Regions from separate parts of the Homo sapiens genome. Here regions 1 and 2 are each linked to region 3. The links are contacts of gene promoters, found by promoter capture Hi-C in blood cells and fetal thymus (Javierre and others, 2016). All regions are on one chromosome and are shown on one strand. The core of a region is centred on a gene start or on the middle of the fragment in contact, and the rest is flanking DNA. Distances in the headings are between cores, read along the strand shown. Region 1 holds the start of LOC101927847 (a long non-coding RNA gene). Region 2 has its middle 87 kb from the start of MIR4290. Region 3 holds the start of GADD45G (growth arrest and DNA damage inducible gamma).

Region 1 (5,027 bases), core at 533-3,032, 370 kb before region 3:
AAATGCATTCCTTTTACTCTCTTACCAGTAGACACACTCACAACTAATTTTTCATAACAGGCCATGTCACAACACTGGATAGGTTCTCTTGGCCTAAAAATGCCTATTTTGGTCACATATTGTATGGGCCTTCCAGTGAAGAAAGGGACTTCTCACCCCTGTCGAGAGAAATAAGTGTACTAGACTCATTGAGTAGCAATCCCCAAGTTGGAGAATATTCCTGAAGAGAAACTTCAGGAAACTGCAGGTCATTTTTTGCCCCATGTACTGATTAAAGCCCAATGCCCATGTAAGATGTATAGAGGTCTAACCTGCTACCCCACTGAAAGAACGAATCTCATTTCTCCAAAGTAATATTACCAGCAATGCAGAGCCTCCAGAACAAGTGGGCAGTAGGTATTTGAAGTCTGCCAAGGGGAGTTTGTAAGTTTATTTTTTTTTCTCAGGAGTAGGAAAATTCTATTCTACCCTACTGTTTCAAACGCAGTTTCAGGATGAGTAGATTTTCCTGCTAAACTGCTGAACATGATTTATTTGTTTTTGCTTTTGTTTTTTGAGACAGGTTTTCTCTCTCGTTGCCCAGGCTGGAGTGCAATGGCACAATCTCAACTCACTGCAACTTCTGCCTCCTGCGTTCAAGAGATTCTCCTGTCTCAGCCTCCCGGGTAGCTGGGATTACAGGCATGTGCCACCACACCTGTTTAATTTTGAATTTTTAGTAGAGACAAGGTTTCACCATGTTGGTCAGTCTGGTCGCGAACTCCTGTCCTCAGGCAATCCATCTGCCTCGGCCTCCCAAAGTGCTGGGATTACAAGTGTGAGCCACCGTGCCCAGCCCCTTAAAGTTATTAATATACGGGCCATCTCCCTGTGCAGAACTCCTGTGTAGAGATGGCAACGATTCTTGCAGCAGGGATAACCCCTGGATTAGGAAAGAAGGGAGGGAGGGAGAAAGGAATAATAGCATGCACCAGGTAAACAGGTTGGAAAGGGGGGTAATTCTGGACAGATAATCGTATAATAATCATGGTCCTTTAAGAAATCTTATAAAATAAGTGCTGCTTAGCACAAGATGTGTAGGAAAGGGAAGAAAGTTAAATGAGGCATCTAGACCCAGGCATCTACAAATTTGGCAGAAGCTTCATTTGTTTTGAAAATTAAAAGAAAATAATTTGTGGCCAGGTGTGGTGGCTCACGCCTGTAATCCCTGCACTTTGGGAGGCCAAGGCAGGTGGATCACGAGGTCAAGAGATCAAGACCATCCTGGCTAACACGGTGAAACCCCGTCTCTACTAAAAATACAAAAAATTAGCCTGGCATGGTGGTGGGCGTCTGTGGTCCCAGCTACTCGGGAGGCTGAGGCAGGAGAATGGCGTGAACCTGGGAGGCAGAGCTTGCAGTGAGCCAAAATCACGCCACTGCACTCCAGCCTGGGCGACAGAGCAAGACTCCATCTCAAAAAAAAAAAAAAAAAAAATGGTGCAGCACACCAACATGGCACATATATACATATGTAACAAACCTGCACGTTGTGCACATGTACCCTAGAACTTAAAGTATAATAAATATATATATATATATTTTTAATTCTAAAAAATAAAAAAATGTAAAATTTAGGAAGAAAACTCCCTTTGGAGTCTTAAAATTTTGTGTTAGCAATTGTTTAATTTCTAATTAGGTTAAAATTAGGAATTATCAGGGGTAACTTTTGTACTCCTAGATTTTCCCAACCACTCAAAACTTACGTTTTGTCTATTTTCAAGATTGATTGTATTTTAAAAATCTTTATCTGTAGTTATGTTTGACTTTCGTTTCTAGTGTTGTTTATTTGTGACTTACCCCCTTTTAAACTCCATTTTGCTAGGACTGGTCTGCCGATGCTTGCAGCTATCACCTTCTGAATTCCCTTCCTTCCCCATCTCCTAAGTTTGCTGGGTTGTTCATTTTCTAGTCTTCTGAGTTGGATCTTGGCCTGTGAATGTCCGTATTTCTTTTTTGGCTTCATGTTCCTCTCCACACACCTCTAGCTGCATCCCACATGCCCTGACGCAGGGGTATTTTCAGTGTCATTCAATGCTAAGTATTTTGTCCTCTGCAATTGCCATGTAGCATTTTCAGTTTCATCGCAACAAACCAGGATTTTATGACATGAGGGCTTCGTGTCTGTGAGACACGCACGTGTACGGCTGTTCCCACTTCGCTCAGCCCTTCACCCTCGCCAAGCCCTGGTCTTCTCTTTGGGCCTGGTCTTGTTTTCCACACAGATGCCTGGACGGAGCCATGTGTCCTGGCCGTATTGCTGGCCCACTGGGCAGAGTGCTCAGTCCCATCACCGAAGCGGCAGCGCCTGCAGCCCTGCCTTCATGGGACACAGCTCCCGCCTGCTCCTTGCTAGTGTCGACTAAAGGTAAAATAATCAAGCTTTTAAAGAATTAAAGTGAGTTTTATTCAGAAGTCTCGTCGAGGGCTACACACAGAAGCCAATAGCCTGGGAGCAGCTCTTTAGAGAGGATCTATCAATGGCTCTGGCCAGGGTTTCAGCCCATAGCTCAGATACAGGTGGTAAGGATTCAGTACGAGCAAAATCCCATCAAACTTGCTCAGAAGTTATATTAAAGCAGAGCCAAATCAAGGCTTAAGTGTAAGAGTACACTTACAGGTTATACTTTACAGAGGCATAATCACTCACTGGTCAGACATTATTTTCTTTTCTGAGACAGAGTCTCCCTCTGTCACCCAGGCTGGAGTGCAGTGGCGCAATCACGACTCACTGCAGCCTCAGCCTCCTGGGCTCAAGTGATCCTCCCACTTCAGCCTTCTGAGTAGCTGAGACTATAGGCATATGCCACCACGCCCAACTGGACATTATTTTATGTGTAGGAAAAGGCAAGGACTAGGATCATGTGTGTTTTGACTATAGGAATGTAGGGACTCAGGTGAGAGACATGGAGGTGCTCTGTGCTCTATTCTGTTTTGTCTTCAAAGCAACCCACCAGAGAGCTCCACGTTGTCACAGTGTCAGGGGCTTTGTGGAATTATGCTGGCCAGCAGAAATGAGCAAATGTGGCTTCTTACCTGTGCTACTGTGTCTCACAGTGAACAAGGCGGCCATGTCCCTCTCTGAAGCCTGCCCGGATGGACTCCACCCCCGAATGGACTCCACGCCTGACCAGCGCCTAGAGATTGCGGGCAGCAGCTGGAGTTTGCCACTCCAGGGCTCAGTGCTCTTTATGCTTTTGCTGCTGGGCTCTTGTGCGTATTTTTGAGGCATCACATTTTATCCACATCTTCATGAATTTCTCATAGGAGGAGGTGGGCTCATGTGAGCTCCTACTGCCCTGTGGTTACTGGAAAGTGAAGCCCTAACAGCCACCTTCCTCTGCCTCCACCTATTTGAGATCTCAGTAGGATTGGCAGTGTCTCTACACTGGGAACCTCACTTTCCATTTGATTGATATTTTTGAAGGATGAAGAGAAAAGGAGAAGATTGTAATACATGGGTGAGGATGTGTACATATGTGTGTGTGTGTGAGAGAGAGAGAGACTAACTAAATCCTTAGTGTCCAGGGAAAAGCCTAATGCTGGAAAAACAGAGTAATGAAGCTGAGCTCCCCCTCTTTCTCAGCAGCTTTATTGATTTACAGTTGACATACCATAAAGTTCACCTTTGTAAAGTGTATGGTTCAACCGTTTTGAGTATATTTACAAAGCTATGCAATTATCACTGCTTTCTAATTTTAGAACAATTTCATTACCTTGTACCAAGAAGAAACCTCGTACCCACTAGCAGTGGCTCCTCCTTCCTCTGCACTTTGCCTTCTCCAGCCCCAGCAACGCCTACTCCACTGTCTGTGAATTTGACTCCCCTATTACCTCATAGAAGTGGCTTTTGTGACTAGCTTCTCTCACTTTTTGGCTATGATTAATAATGTTTCTATTAATACCCATTTACAGGTTTTTGCATGGTTGTGTGTTTAATTTCTCTTCATGTATACCTAGCAGTGGAATTGCTGAGTCATATGGTTACTGTGTTTAACATTGTGAGGATCTAACCAACTGTTTTCTAAACAAAGTGGCTTTTTAAAAAAAAAAATAATTTTATTTTATTTTTATTTTAAGTTCTGGGATACATGTGCAGGACGTGCAGCTTTGTTACACAGGTAAACATGTGCCATGGTGTTTTGCGCACCTATCAACCCATCACCTAGGTATTAAGCCCAGCATGCATTAGCCATTTATCCTGATGCTCTCCCTCCACCTGCCCCTAACCACAGACCCCAGTGTGTGTTGTTCCCCTCCCTGTGTCCCTGTGTTCTCATTGTTCAGCTCTCAGTTATAAGTGAGAATATGCTGTGTTTGGTTTTCTGTTCCTGTGTTAGTTTGCTAAGAATGGCTTCCAGCTCCATCCATGTCCTTGCAAAGGACATGATCTCGTTCCTATTTATGGCTGCGTAGTATTTCATGCTGTATATGTACTGGCTTTGTATTTTAAGGACTGTTTGAGATTGCACCCCTCATGCACTGCTGGTGCATGTGAATGTGAAGTAATACAGCTGCTTTAGAAAACAGCCTACCAGCTCCTCAAATGGTTAGACATAGAGTTACCACATGACCAAGAAATGTTACACCTATGTATATACCCAGGAGAAGTTAGAACGTGTATCCCCACAAAAATGTGTGCACAAAGTTCAAAGGGGTATTGTTCACAATTGTGAACAAGTAGATAGCATCCAATGTTCATCAACTGATGAATGAATAAATAAAAGGTGATAGATCCACACAATGGGATATTGTTTGGCACGAAAAAGGGGTGAAGATGCTACAGCATGGATGATCCTTAAAAACATTCTGCTAAGTTAAAGAAGCCAGTCATCAAAGACCACATGTTGTATGAAACTATTTCAGGAAAATCTCCAGAAGAGGCAAATCCCTAGAATCCGAAGGTGGAAGAGTGATTGCCTAGGGCTGAGGTGGGAAAGAGGGGGAGGGTTCTTTGTTTTGACATAATGCAAATGTTCTCAAGCGAA
Region 2 (4,369 bases), core at 710-3,209, 330 kb before region 3:
TCTGCAGGAAAGGAAACAGGAAAGTAAGAAAGGGCAAAGAAAGACAAAAAAACTGTGAAGAACAAAACAATCTAATCTGGAAAAAAACACAAACTGAAAACAGAAGTTTCCTCGAGTGTTCTGAACTGCAGGGTGAAAAAAAGAAAGGAATGAAAAAAAACACAAACTGAAAACAAGAAGTTTCCTCGAGCGTTCTGAACTGCAGGGTGAAAAAAAATAAGGGAATGTGAATTTAGTTATTAATAGAAGTTTCACATAAGGGATTTCTTTTTAAAAGAAGTGAGAATTTGGAAATAAGGCACCAAATTGAGGCTTAAGCCACCATTTACAGAGTTAATAAATTAATTAAGAGCAACAGTAGATAATATACACAAGTAAAAAAAGAAAATCACGTTATATTAACTGTAAAAAAAACTTGTTAACCTTCTTATTTACTCTCTCATTTTTGGGTAATGGCAGACCAGGTAATTTAGACCAACGCTTCTGTTGGAAACAACCCGAAAATGCCAATCTATGTCTCATCCATCCATATCTATATGTAAATACATATGTCTACATCTATATCCATAAATATTTATTTCTATCAATATCTATCTCTCTATAAAGGCTTAAAGGCAGTAAACAGCTAAGTAGATGGTGAGAAATTAGCCAACTGAAATCCAGGAAAGTTCTGGAATCTAGCAAATTGAGTCAAGCACTTGAAGCTAATTTTTGTCCTGGGGAAATTTCAAAGTCTGGAAGCAAGAGTTTAGAATCTGAGTTATATTCTTGCTGACCTCATGACATTAGAGAGACAAAGTTGCACAGAGGTGCCCAAGGACCTGGTAAAATAACCCCTCAAAATGACACTGAAAAACACCAGGAAAAGGTACTTTTTATGGTGTTAAAGAATTATTTACCCCTTCCCAAAATCACCAAGATTACCCAGTGTCACAGGTGAATTTTTTTAATGTTTGAAGTAACAGAATATTTTGGTGCATTTAAACTATTTCAGAAAGCATAGCAAAAATAAGAAAGTTAGCACAATTTTTTTTACAGTCAGTGTAACACAATTTTTCTTTTGTAATTAATAAGCCTTGTCTGGGCAGTAGCTCACTCTTGTTGTTTTCTTCTTTTTATTTTTCTGTATTAGACAATTCTACTAAGTGATTAAAAATACATTAAATATGCCTAACATGGAAGATCAAGGTAATTAATAAGTTTACAAAGTGGTAGGATAGGCAAGATTATCTATTCAATTTCCAAATTTGGTCAAAAAGTCATAAACTTTTGAACCACACAAATTCAAAGTATGTGGAAAATCAGATCTTAAAATCCAAAATCATGTGTGTAGAAGGTGCAAATAGGGAGGGTAAAGCAAAATACAAGAGCCTGGGAGAGTGAATGGCCTGATCAGGAGACCAGGCAGAGGTCACTCTTAGCTAAAAGCCCTGTGTGTCTGCCCAACTCCTCCACCCCAACAGACACAGAAGATTCATAAACCAGATAGTGCCTTAAAAAAGAGTGATGATTCTGCCACGGCTCTTTGACATACTTCTGGACCATTTTTTGTCCTTCTCTTATGCAAATATTAAGCTCCTTCTTCTTTCAGATAAATAATTCAGTACTTTTAAATGTCCTAAAATGATTTGATGTTAAGTCTGTTTTAACCAGCAAAACAAGCATTCAGTGAACATGCACCTTGCACCAGGAATATGCTAACCATTTAGCTAAGAACTGGTTCAAGAGGGACATAGGATCACAATTTTAAAAATCGTGGGAGCAAGGTCCGCTTGACCTGTCTACCATGGAGGGCTGTGAAAGAGCAAAGCCTGGCTGCCAAACACCCTTCACCCACTTCTTAAGCTCACTCAGGTGCTTGAAAAGAAGAAAACTACTCCATGACAGCCCCTCTGTAGTAAGAACAAATAGTGAGAGGAATCCAGAAGCTCTGTGATTGTAGTTGCTTCACATAAAGATCCATCTCAGAGACTTGGGATCCTTGGCACTTTGACCTTAGGAAGAACCAGTGAGAAAATATAAGGCAGTGACATTGACCTAACTAACCAACTAACCTTACTAGTTCTTTTTTTTTTTTTTTCCTTTTTTGAGACAGAGTCTTGCTCTATCGCCAGGCTGGAGCGTAGTGGTTCAATCTTGGCTCACTGCAACCTCTGCCTCCCAGATTCGAGTGATTCTCTTGCCTCAGCCTCCTGAGTAGCTGGGACTACAGGCATATGCCACCACGCCCAGCTAATTTTTGTTATTTTTAGTAGAGATGGGGTTTCACTGTGTTGGCCAGGTTGGTCTCGATCTCTTGACCTCATGATCCGCCCTCCTCGGCCTCCCAAAGTGCTGGGATTACAGGTGTGAGCCACCGCACCCGGCCCTAACCTCACTAATTCTTAAGAATAATAACCTTTCATCAACAAAAGAGAGACCTTTTCCCTCAACCTGCAGTTTCCAGCAAAGCTCCCACAGTTCTGGAAGATCTGGAAGATCTGCAATCTTCTGAAGCATTCTCAATCAATATCCAAAATTTGGATCATTCAAGGGCCCCAGTGAGTTCTTATGGTGTGCCTTCCTCCCAGCAGGCAAGTCAGCTCAGAATGGACAGAGTTGCCCACCCCCTTCTTTCTCTCATGGCCTGAGTTGTTTGCACTAGGCTGAGGGGGCAGCCTCTTCAACAGATGAACAAAGAACACAGAAGAGCTGCTGGGTGCTTTCTCAGGAGTGAGCAGGTTCTTGATCCCCTTGTCTGTTATACTCCTCTGTCCTCTGAATCCAGCCCAGCTGCTTTCATAAAAGCCTGAAAGCATCCTTCTATGTCTTTGCCTATTTTGTGATAAATTATGCTCAATTTCCATTTCTTCTTTTCATCAGAGCATTTGACTTCCTCCAAATATAAAACCCAAGTTCGTTTCAGTTTTAGGCTGATAAAAAGTTAGTTTCATGTGTGCATTCTTCTTTATCCACAAGCCTCAACCCAAGGTTTAGGAATAAGGGTTCCACCCTGAGTGAAAGTAGGTCAATTGAGAATTGTTCCCTGGCTCACTGACAGTGTTGATTTATCCAGGGGATGCCTTTCTGCTAGTTCAAATGAGAAGCTGATTCAGAGGCTAGTAAACTGTGTGTAGATACTGATGCCCAGGGATGGAGAGAATGTCTGTTTCTTAAACTCGTATTCCCAGTACACACATTGCTTCGGGCATTACGGCATCCAACAGGGTTAGTGGTGCCATAGCATTGAGCCACCAGGAAGCAAGAATTAAGGAAACAGAACACATCAATCATCCAAACATTGTAGGGACCTGTCCCATGTTCTTTGTCATTCCCAGTATGAGATGGAGACATTTTATAACACCCTCAGTCACTCTGAAGACAAGGAATAGGAAGAAACAGACTTGGAGTAGAACACACTGCCAACCAAGGTAGGAATGTGGGTGCATATCCTGGGCTGGTTTTTGTGACTTTGATGATTAGGTGGGATGATTGGGTGGATGTACTTGGGAAGCGACGAAGCACCAGAGAAATAGGAGCTAAGGTGGAAATTCAACAACTGGGTTTCAGAAGAGCTGGGCTCAAGTCCAAGTTCTGCCCAGTCCATGTGATCTTAGGCAGGCAAGATGCAGTCTGCATGGCCTGCAGTGTTCTCAACACTTCGCTTTCCTGGCTTCACAATGTCTACCACGACTAGTGTCTGAAGTGGGCTCTCCATTCCTCTTGGCTTTGACACTCCAGTTCTGAACTGTCCCCCATTTCCCAGCTACAGAGTTTATACAAACAAGTGGTGCTCGTCGGAGAACCTCTCCGAGTGCTTGGGCTGACAAAGCAAAGCACAGCCAGAATGCAGGCAGCTCCAGCCTCCAGCATCCTTGACCAACTTCACAAAGGACTGTAGAGGAAGCGACATTAAAGCAAGGGGCCATTGTGAAAGCTTTTCTATTGACTGTAACTCTCCCTTTGAGTTAGAAATAGACTTTGAAAGTGGGGCCATTGTCTGACCAGGCTCCCTGTTAGTGCACATTTTACCTGGACCCAACAGGTCTCTTGTCTCCTACAACAAATATTGTGCCATACTGGGCAGCTGCCAACCTCAAAGCACACGCCTTCCTGCCAGGTGTGATCAGGTACAGTCCATATTTATGTCGAGAGATGGAGAAGGGAACAGTCACCCTCCGCCTGGATTCCAACAAGTGTGCCTGGCACCCTATGCAAGAAAGAAGGGCTCGCTGTCCAGGGTCATCATGGCCAAAAGGGCAGCTGGGGCCGGGGTATTCCCAGAGTGGGCTGAGCCCCTGGGAGGGCTGAGCAGAGGACGGCCCCATGACATGCAAGCTGGCAAAGTCAGGGTTCAGGTTGTGGGTTCTAAACTCCTGACCACGGATGA
Region 3 (4,447 bases), core at 1,828-4,327:
TGTGTCCCATCATGCATTTATTCACCTGAAAATTCTCCTAGCCCTTTGGGGTTCCAACAGGTGGCCTCATAGCAAGCTCTAATCAAAAAACCAAGGGCTTACAACCTCATGTTCTACAAGTGTCGCTTGGCCAACAGGAGGGTCTGCCTACCTGCTCTGTGCAATGTTCTGCTGAATTTACTCATTTAAGGGTTCATTTTAAAGTAATCAAGTCCACTTTGTGTTTACAATAGCATGTTCTGGTCATTTTGCTGGAACGCAGACTGGTAGACAGGCCCACCCCAAGACTACCTCAATAAGAAAACCTTAAGATTTCAAGCAGCAAATAGGTAAAATAGTAATGAAAATTGGGCACAAATACAACTGAATTTTTTATCTAGGCTTCTGTCCCATTGAGGAGTAGATGTTTTTAGGAGCTGATAAATGGAAAACAAGGACGCTTTCATTACAAGAAGAGTAATTCAGTACAGTTTTCCTGTTGCCTCAAGAATCCTCCCGTAATTTGGACGGAATTTTAGGACGTGGCACTCAATGAGGTAAATCAGCCACCCCAAGCACTGAAGACAGCACATCATGCCTCCTTTGCCCAGAAGGCTCAGCCTGCTTGGCAGTCTAGCTGACAGCACAAGGGTCCCACATGTATTTCCCCTGCTGAAAGCAGCTAGTTAGACACAGAACGAACTCAAGGCATATTGGTCTCATAAAAAAGATTGATTCGATCAGGACATTTCCCCCTAGTTCCTTTTTAAAGAAAGTCTTGGCTTAAAATATTTAATTTTTTTTTCCTATGAGTCTTTAAACGGAATTGTGAATAGCAGCAATCCTCGTAACTCTGATGTGGGCAGAGAACACTGAAAATAGTAGATAGCAGATGCCAGGCCCCCTCAGAATTGCTCATGCCTATTTATATAGATGCTGCCTTCCAATTTTTTCTCAGATCTTCCAAGTTCTATCACAGCCATGACAAAGTAATGACTCATACTTAAATGCAGTCATCAATGTCATATTTGGTATTAGTACCTTTGTAGCATTGCTTTGTGTCAGAGCATTTAAGAGGAAAAAGTCCCCAAGAGCAGGAGCAGTCTGCCACCATCCTCAGGGACCACAAAGGGCAGGGCCTGCAGAAGGCAATGCTCATTGTGCAGGAAAGCCTGAGGCCTCCTGCAAGCTGTTCAGATAAGCAGCTGTAGGAGGGAGGGGGAGGAGGGCCGAGGAGGGGGAGGGGAGGCACAGGTCACTGTTATCGCCTTGGAAGGCAAGACTTCAGCTGCTGCACTGTCTTATCTCAAGTATGCTCCTGTTTTGCAAGTTTAAAATCTTCCTAAAAGGAGAAAAGTAGGAGCCAGGCTCAAGTTCTACCCTAGCACTGGGCAGCATGCCCTCCCTCTGCCAGAGGGGAGGAGCCTGTCATTCTTGCCCGACAGGAAGACGGAACAGGTGCCATCAGTTCCACGGAGTTCCAGCAATCCTCTGAAACCCTGCACGCCACCTCCCCCGACACAAAGATCCCCTACCCTCAATAAAGAGCATAAGTTTGTTTCAAAAAGTTTATTGTAAAATTCAAAGCTTCAACAGCAGCATCCTTTAGAAAACGAAGCATTGCCCGGATCCGTTTTGAAAAAGCAGCGCAGTCGGCTAAGTCCTTCACGCTCCTGCAACTGTACCAAGTCCAGGGCGCCGCTCCTTCCTGCCGAGCGCAGGCTGCTGAGTCACGCCTGCCCGGCCAGTCTGTCCTTCCTGGCCCTGAGGCCAACGTCCTAGCCTAGGCCTTCCTGGGCGAGCAGCCGCTCCAGACACTTGCAGAGTCCTCAGCTCGGACCAGCCTGGCCCTGCCGCCACCGGGCCCCTCCTCGGGAGGCCGCGCCTCCTCGCTCTCCAGGCGCCCCCCCCGCCTGCCAGTCTCCACGCCGCACTCGGGCACCCTCGGAGGGCCCCTCCACAGAGCCAGCCGCGCTCTAGGCGCCCCGGGGCGTCACCACGTCGATCAGACCAAGGTCCCCGCCGGGCTGTCACTCGGGGAGGGTGATGCTGGGCACCCAGTCGTTAACGCTGCGGCTCTCCTCGCAAAACAGGCTGAGCTTCTCCAAGGCGGGATCCTTCCAGGCGTCCTCGTTGGGGTTCTGCGGAGAGAGAGCAGGGTCAGCCTGGCTGGCCGCGGGCCGAGGCGGGAACGACACTGGGGCGGGGACAGGACGGGACTGTACTCACCGAAATGAGGATGCAGTGCAGGTCGCCCGGCGCACCCGCCTCCTCGCCGGCGCCCACGATAGCCGCCAGCCGCTGCACATCGCCCACGCGCACTATGTCGATGTCGTTCTCGCAGCAGAAAGCCTGGATCAGCGTAAAATGGATCTGCAGCGCGATGTCGCCCTCGTCCTCCTCACCCGCAGCCAGCACACAGAAGGTCACATTGTCGGGGTCCCTGCGAGGGCAAGGCGGGGACCTAGGTCAGAACCGGCTAGCCGAGTTCTCCCGCCGCCACCCCTCCCATCCGCCAGTCTCCTCGCCATTCACCCCCGCCCCTGTCTCCCAGCCTGGGCCGCGTCTACACTTACACGTTCAAGACTTTGGCTGACTCGTAGACGCCGGCAGTGAGGCAGCCCTGACGCTGCGCCGACAGCAGCAACTCATGCAGCGCTTTCCCGGCACCCTGCATCCTGCGGAGGAGCCAGCGCAGTGAGCGGGAGCCGGCCGGAGGGCGCGGCGGAGACCCCAGCCCCGGCCACCGGCACACACCCTTGGCTCCCCAACTCCAACCACACTCCAATCCCGGCTCAGCGCCTGCACCCCGGCTCTCCAACCGGGATCTGGCGCCCGGACCCCCGCGCTCCCCTCCTACCCCGCGGATTCCCACCCTGGAAAACCCTGACGGTCGCCGACCGACCAGCGGCTTTCTCAGCGCCCTGAAACCCACCTGGCTGTGCTTTCCGGAACTGTGTCCTGGCCGCGGACTTCTTCCAGAGTCATAGTGCGATCAACCAGCAGCTAGTTATCCACAAGCGGAGAGCGCGGAGGGGACGCGGGCGAACACACTGACAGCCAGAGCTCAGCACGGCGCGCCCACCACCAGCGAGTGCGCCCCTACTACGCTGCGCGCCCTTATATAGGCTGGTGGGTGCGGCGCCGCCAGCTGGCGCGAGGCTGCGCGCCTATTGGCCGGCACCCGCTTTCTGATGTAAATGAGGCGGCGAGCCAGCGGCTCGTGCCAGAAGGCCACGTGGGGAGGGGTGCGGGGGATGACAATGCCTCAAATCTGCCGCTTTTGTTGGGGTGTTACCAGGCAGACTGGAGCCTGCAGATTTCATCTCGCCTGGCTTTTTTTTTTTTTTGAAGTCCTTAAAAGGAAAAAGTAAAAAAAAAAAAAAAAGAAAAAACCCAACCCACAAAAACCTTGTTTGCTTATATGATGCTGCAATTTGCGAAAAGCACCTTTATAGAAGCAAAGGGATTTTTTTTTGCATTTTGTATTGCTACCTTTCTATTTGTTTCTTTTCTTTAATTTGAAGTCTATGAGACTGTTGCATTGGAGCCAGAAATTAAGGTAAAAACAGGTAGCGCCAGTTAGAGGCTTGCAAAAGGCAGTGGGCACAGCCCCCTGCAGCTGACCACTAGCGTCCCGAGCGCGCTGGTGATGCCTGCCAGGCATACTCAATGTGTACATTGAGCCGTCTCTGGAAGATCCCACCCCACCTCCCCGCCCTTGGCCGAGCGCGGCGGGGCGCGGGAGACGGGGGCGGGCGGGGACGAGCAGATTGCGGCCGGCGCACGCCGCTCGTTTGCATTTCTATGGAGGGCGCACAATAGCAGAGGTCTGGCGTGTGGCGGTTTGCTGTAGGGACAATCGAGGCTTTCTCTTCATAGCAACACTGTCCACCTGCCGCCGGGTGGGGTGGGCAGGACCCCGCCGCGCGTGGGGGTCGCCGGGCTGCCTGGCGCGTGGGGTCGAGGCTGAGTGCCACTCCGTGGTCCCTGAGTGCACGCCCCCAGTACTGGCCCTGCTACAAGTAATTCCCTTCCATCCGTTCCTCGCACGGGTGCCGAACAGCCGCGCGAGTTGGGAAGGACGGAGAGCTGCTGTGCAGTCTTCGCGGCTGGACGCCCTGTGGCCGGGACCCCGCGGCTGCAGCCCCTGGAGCTTAGGTAATGCAGCTCGGAATCTTTCCCGGGGCGCCATCTGCAGGCAGGTTAAAAAGATCCTGAACCCCTTTTGTCCTCCCCTCCCCCCAACACACACACCCTTGCATTGGCCTGGCGCGGGGGAAGGGCGGTGGAGAGGGACGGCCACGGAGCTGCCCGGCCGGGCCCAGTGAGCCCTGTCCAAGCTGCGCATAAATAGAACCCGAGTAAGGGCTGCAAAACGCATTCAGGTGGGACTGCAGTTACCCTGGGGAGTAGAGGGCAAAAGGAAATTCCCATCCAGTACTGATGGAGTAAGAGCCCCTACGTC

Evidence for each region. The method cuts DNA at HindIII sites, captures the fragments that hold promoters and counts their contacts. A CHiCAGO score of 5 or more calls a contact.
Region 1: a fragment that was not itself captured here is called in contact with the fragment with the promoter of GADD45G in region 3 in 10 of 17 cell types (M1 macrophages, M0 macrophages, M2 macrophages and 7 more); the score reaches 21.0 in M1 macrophages.
Region 2: a contact is called between a fragment that was not itself captured here and the fragment with the promoter of GADD45G in region 3, in 14 of 17 cell types (M1 macrophages, megakaryocytes, M0 macrophages and 11 more). The highest score is 18.2, in M1 macrophages.

Annotation. Positions count from the first base shown.
Region 1 is chr9:89,968,212-89,973,238 of GRCh38, reverse strand. It overlaps LOC101927847 (a long non-coding RNA gene), which reads right to left and starts at 3,823. Exons shown (of 3, transcript NR_109791.1): 1 at 3,756-3,823. RefSeq lists an enhancer at 3,734-3,783. The HindIII fragment of the contact is 1,282 bases long and covers 1,142-2,423 here.
Region 2 is chr9:89,934,683-89,939,051 of GRCh38, reverse strand. No RefSeq gene overlaps it. Among named protein-coding and RNA genes, the nearest start is that of MIR4290, 87 kb to the left of the region's middle. The HindIII fragment of the contact is 3,919 bases long and covers 1-3,918 here.
Region 3 is chr9:89,603,642-89,608,088 of GRCh38, reverse strand. GADD45G (growth arrest and DNA damage inducible gamma) reads right to left here and starts at 3,077. Exons shown (of 4, transcript NM_006705.4): 1 at 2,915-3,077; 2 at 2,556-2,657; 3 at 2,209-2,422; 4 at 1,534-2,120. The coding sequence starts at 2,967. The coding sequence ends at 2,010. LOC105376139 (a long non-coding RNA gene) reads left to right here and starts at 3,073. Exons shown (of 2, transcript XR_930105.3): 1 at 3,073-4,447. RefSeq lists a silencer at 3,708-3,757 and an enhancer at 3,368-4,266. The HindIII fragment of the contact is 4,421 bases long and covers 1,569-4,447 here.